Regions from separate parts of the Homo sapiens genome. Here region 1 is linked to region 2. The links are contacts of gene promoters, found by promoter capture Hi-C in human tissues and cell types (Jung and others, 2019). All regions are on one chromosome and are shown on one strand. Each heading gives the region's core, a stretch centred on a gene start or on the middle of the fragment in contact. The rest is flanking DNA. Distances are from core to core; before and after follow the strand shown. Region 1 has its middle 14 kb from the start of LTF. Region 2 holds the start of CXCR6 (C-X-C motif chemokine receptor 6).

Evidence for each region. The method cuts DNA at HindIII sites, captures the fragments that hold promoters and counts their contacts. A contact is called where the count stands out against the background at its distance.
Region 1: a fragment that was not itself captured here is called in contact with the fragment with the promoter of CXCR6 in region 2 in 2 of the 25 tissues and cell types used here (mesenchymal stem cells and small bowel).

What each region holds. Positions count from the first base shown.
Region 1 is chr3:46,477,337-46,480,036 of GRCh38, reverse strand. It overlaps a transcript of LTF not described here. Among named protein-coding and RNA genes, the nearest start is that of LTF, 14 kb to the right of the region's middle. RefSeq lists enhancers at 1,111-1,610, 1,611-2,112. The HindIII fragment of the contact is 7,156 bases long and covers 1-2,700 here.
Region 2 is chr3:45,942,207-45,944,906 of GRCh38, reverse strand. It overlaps CXCR6 (C-X-C motif chemokine receptor 6), which reads right to left and starts at 1,443. Exons shown (of 2, transcript NM_006564.2): 1 at 1,367-1,443. All of the region lies in intron 14 of FYCO1 (FYVE and coiled-coil domain autophagy adaptor 1), which reads left to right. The HindIII fragment of the contact is 14,146 bases long and covers 1-2,700 here.

The DNA of each region.
Region 1 (2,700 bases), core at 62-2,561, 540 kb before region 2:
ATTCCCAGTCTTCCCCATCTCAGTTAATGAAACTACCTCCTTTTAGTTTCTCAGGCCAAACACCTTGGTGCCATCATCCACCTCTCTCCTTCACACCCCACATCCCCTTGTAATGTAAGCAAATCCCATGACCTCCTCCTTTAAAATATGTCAAGAATCCAGCCATCTCACTATTTCTCCACTGCCACATCCTAATCAAAGCCACTTCTGGCCGGGCGCAGTGGCTCACGCCTGTAATCCCAGCATTTTGGGAGGCTGAGGTGGGTAGATCACTTGAAGTCAGGAGTTCGAGACCAGCCTAGAAACCAGCCATGGTGAAACCCCGTCTCTACTAAAAATACAAAAATTAGCCAGGGGTGGTGGCACTTGCCTGTAATCCCTGCTACTTGGGAGGCTGAGGCAGGAGAATCGCTTGAACCCTGGAGGCAGAGGTTGGAGTGAGTTGAGATCGTGCCACTGCACTTCAGACTGGGTGACAGAGCGAGACTCTGTCACAAACAAACAAACAAACAAACAAACAAACAAACAGAAAAGCCACTTCATCTCTCTCCCAGGTCACTGCTGGAGCCTCCCTAATCATCTCTCTGCTCCCCACTTGTTCTGCCTCTCAGTCCATTCTCAGCCTTCTGCCTTGGCTCCTACATCCTCAGAGTAAAAGCAGATGGTCTTCTAGGTACCCACAGGGCCCCACAATTCCCGGGCCCTGTAATCTCCCCCTCAATCACTTGGTTCCGGCCAAACCCACTTTGTGGAGGTTGCTGGAAGATGCCAGGGTGGGAGAGAGGGGGCTATGGGGTTTTCCCTGCCTGTCACAGGTCAGGCTGCCCCTCCTCCAGAGCTGCCACAGGTGGGAGGCAGATTCCCTACCACGCACAGAGCCTTGGGCACAGGCGTGGTTCTCCATGCTTCTTCTGTTACCGTGGTCCATGGACATTCTCATCTCCTATGGTGGTAACTGACTATTCCCTTGTCTGTTGCCCTTGGGGGCAGAACTGAGTCTAACTCAGTTTGGTGACCCAGTACCTAACAAGGACCTGGTCCAGGATAAATGCTCTGTGAGGATGGCTTTAGTTGAGGGAACCCCTCTAAGTGCAAGGAGTCAGGAAGCTGGATTCTACCTGGCCGCACTGTGTCAGGTCTGAGCAGGCCACACGCCCTCTCTGGGCTTAGAGACCTCATTTGTAAAATGGCATAAAAAATATTATTTTCTGAGAGTGTCTGATTTTCTTGGTCAAATTATTTCAAGGTAGTAACCTCAAGCCAGAATATTTCCAAATATCCTGGAAATTGCTCACTTTTGTGACTCTTTCCTCCATTTCCAAATAGCCATCAGGTTCTGCTTCATCTACGAGGTCCCCAGGCCCACCCACTAGTTCCTCATTCTGCCAGTCATCTTCTGCCCTACCCTCTTCTGTCCTCCCCTTGGCCCTCTAGCATCTACGTTGCATCCTGCGGCTGCTTCCTCATCCAGCTGCACTGTCCAGGAAGATGGGGAGTGATGGTTAAGAGCGGGGTGGACCTGGCCTCACCCTTTGGTCCCTGGCACTCTCTAGGGACCCTGCTCATGCCTGCTGATAGCACTGTGGAGAGCAAAGTGTGTCACCTGCCCTTTGTCACCAACATAGCGACCTTCAGCCTCTGGGGAAGTGACTGAGTGGCCACATGGGTTCTGGGAAAGCTTCCCTTGTAGCCCAGAGACCCTTGGAGGGGGAGAGAGAAGATGTGTGGAGCAAAGCCAAGACTGACAGTCGGGACGCAGCTGGGTTACTGGTGAGCAGAAATTCAAGGAGGCTGCCCAGGCTGCTGAGAGGGGCCATTAGGAAAAGTCTCAGGGCAGTGGGGCGGGAAGAGGGCATGATGGTGAGAGAGACAGAGAACTGGAGAGAGAAGTGGACGTCATAAAAGAGAGAGGAGTGAAAGAGTTACAAAGGGTTGCAGATAACAGGACAGAATGTGGGCATAAGGAGTGTGGGTGTGGAGAGGGGCCCAAGGAATCACAAAGACAGATGTCTGTAAAAGGGCTGGGGCACGCTGCTGGGTTAGCTTGAGAAGGAAGACTGGGGAAAGTGGCTCCCGCTCGGCCCTCTGTCCTCCCTGTAGGGTGAACTTGCCTTTGCTAACACCTTCTGTTGGATTGTGACTCAACTGGAGCCGCCTGGGGAAAGGGAACTCTTTGCAGATTCCCAGGACTCTGCATAGGTTCTGGCTCACAACGGGGACCAGAAATGCATGGAAACAATAACAATAATAGTTAATATTGACTGAGTTTTCACTGTATGGTTTGGCCTTGTACTGAAAATCTTACATCCATTCATTTATTAATTCACACACCCATTCCTTCGTTCAAAAAATATCGATTGAGCAGCCCCTATGTGCTGGGCACTGTTCTAAGCATCTTTATAAGTTACTTCATTAAGTTCTAACAATTTTATGAGGGAGATGCTTTTAGTATTCCTATTTTCACATGGGGACACTGAAGCTGAGACAGGCTGAATGACGTGGCTAGATCTGGGGAGTGGGGAAGAGGTAGAGCTGGTTTCAAACTCCCCTGCCTGCGATGTTTAACCACTCTCATCACTGACCCTGCCTTTCAGGCACCAGACTACCCAGTGAATCAAAGGGACAAGGGAGTCGCCTAGAATGCAGGTGTGGCCTTGGGATGTGCTCAGAAGGGCCAGGCTTCATCTGGGCTTAGAAGAG
Region 2 (2,700 bases), core at 194-2,693:
TATGTGTTATTGATTCACATGGGCAAAAACATATTTTTTCATCATTTAAAATATGAAACAGGTGGCTTTGCTCTTAAGAATAATGTTCAGCTCCCCATTATTGCTTGACTCGCTCTCGCCTTTTTTTGGTATCTTCCTGTTCCAGCTTTTGCTGGTCCCTTATGCTGCCATTACACATTTCCTCAAAGGACCTGTGCAAATTCATGTGTAATAATTGGTAAACTTTGATGTATAATAATTGGTAAACAGATTGGGCCTGGACAGTGCTGTGCAAATAGAGTATGAAAAATTACTTTCCCTTCTAGGCGAACTAAAAACATTCATTTCTTTATCCTCTATAATTAAAATCCTATTTTGTTTTCTGAAAATTAAAAAAAAAATCTACAACTTTGGAAGTAGTGTAAAAGTCTGATAATGATGAAGCAAATTACAATTCATACATAAAATAGAATATACTTAAATGTTTAGGAAGTATTTTTACTGATTTTGGAAAATGCAATACAGTTAAATTGCTAAGAACAGTGTAAACACAAAGTAAATATGCAAAATAAGTATTAACTATTACTATTACAACAAATAGATGTCAAAAGGATATAAAATTGTGATTCTTAACCTTTTTTGACCATAAACTCCTTTGAGAATCTCCTAAAAACTGCAGACCTTTTCTCAGAAATAATGTATATATATATACACACACACACACACACACAGACACACACGCACACACACAAACACCCCTACAATTCTGGGAGTCCATGAACCCCTTGAATCCTTCTGCCATGTATTCTGTGGGCCCTCACATAAGAGTTCATGATAAACTATGTGATTTTAACTGACCGTACTTTTAGAAACCTGGAAAAAATGATCACATTTTATTAACAGTTGGCCTCCAGCTGGTGGAATTATGGGTGACTTATTTCTTCCTTTTTTTAAAATAGTTTTCAAAGTTTCTACAGTAGTATGTTGATTTATATTGAAAAAAGAACATAAATGATAATCTGATAAAACAGCCTGTCTTATGCAAAAGAAATGAAAACAGAGATTATTCATTGAGCAAATATAGACAATAACTAGATTCTCCTTATCTCCCTGGGTGGGTCTGACTATGCCATTACTAGCAGTACCATCAGCCTGCAAGCACTAACTGTGTGCCTGGAAACATGTTCAGTAGTTTTCATGTTTCTCCAGTTTAACCCACACAGCAGCAAATGGCAGTGATGGAATTTGAACGAAGAGCAGCTGAGCTCCATAGCCTGGCATTTTGCACTGTACCCTACTACAGACAGGAATCTGAGAATACCAACAATACCTGGGGTTAGTCCTCCCTGTCTTCTTTTCAATATAAAGAGTAAAACAAATGACTCACCAGCAGAGATGCTTTGCCAGTTTGTTCCAGAGATGAGCTTGCTCATGAAGCAAGGTCTGCCTCTACTTCTGTGATGTGGTTCATGTTTCCGCTGAACATTTTTTAAGAGCCCTCAGCTGGTTACTATAAGAGACCCACCCCCTACTCCCGTCCTTCAGATCAGAATCCATATGACCAACCCGCCCCTGTGTAACGCGTGGGTCAGAGATGGATGGGTGACTGATACCCCACACTCCCTTCATTCTGCTTTGGGGCTGATTCTTCTGTCAGGGCCTGACGAGCTTTATTCGTAAACTAAAGGGGAACAATAAGGAGGTTTGGCTCTGGCCATCCACCGAAGATGGTGGCATTTGTACCTTAAAATTACTTAATTCACTAGTCAGACATCTTTTTGGAACAGTTAGGGTCTGGGCCAATGCTGAGTCCATGGTATGGGCTGGGTTCTGCGTGCATATGCAGCTCCAGCATATGTGATAGCTGTTAAGCCCCATAGCAGCCCTGCAGTGGATATTATCCTGCCTTTATAGATGAGAACACTGAGGACCATAGCCAAAATAACAAGCCCTGGTGCACACAGCTAGAAACTGGAAAATCGAAGATACACACTCAGGTATCTGTCATTACCAGACCAATCAACAGCATGATGATGGGTCTGCCAGAGGGCCTGGTGCAGCCCCACCTCCTAAGCCCACACCACTCAGGCACTCAGCAGGCAGTGCCCACCCACCCTGCGTAGGCTGGCTGGAATCATCTGGTTTCCTTGGGCTGCCCTCTGTACTCCTGGAATTCCCCAGATGTTGACTACTTTGATCTCAGTACAGTTCTAGTTGTCAGTCTCCATGATCTAACATTACTGACCCTTCTGGGAAATAACGCTGGAAGGCAGGAATTGGAGGCATGTCAGCCTGGGTCACATGCCCCAGTGCCTTGTAGTGGAGAGGGTACTAGGGAGAGGCATGGACTCGATGTCTGCTTTCCCAGAAGCAGCTGCCTTCTTGTGGAGGTGCCTGGCCTGCCTTCTCTGGCTCTGCACTCCCATTCAGGCTGCTTCTCTCCAATGCTGTTGCTCTCTCCCACCTGCTAGGCAAACCTTCTCATGTGGCTCTTCCTAAGGGCAAATGTCAAGCATTGGGAGCAGGGACCAGGAGCAGCCTCAGGATCCAGAGACTAACACTCATTTCTACCGCAAGCCTGGCCCTATGCTGGATGCTTCTATGTACAGCCATCTAATCCTAGTCACGTACAGATAGGCAAACAGAAGATTAGAGAGATTAGCCCACTTGCCCAAGAACACACATCCCTGGCAGTCACCCAGGACTGTCAGGCTGCAAAGC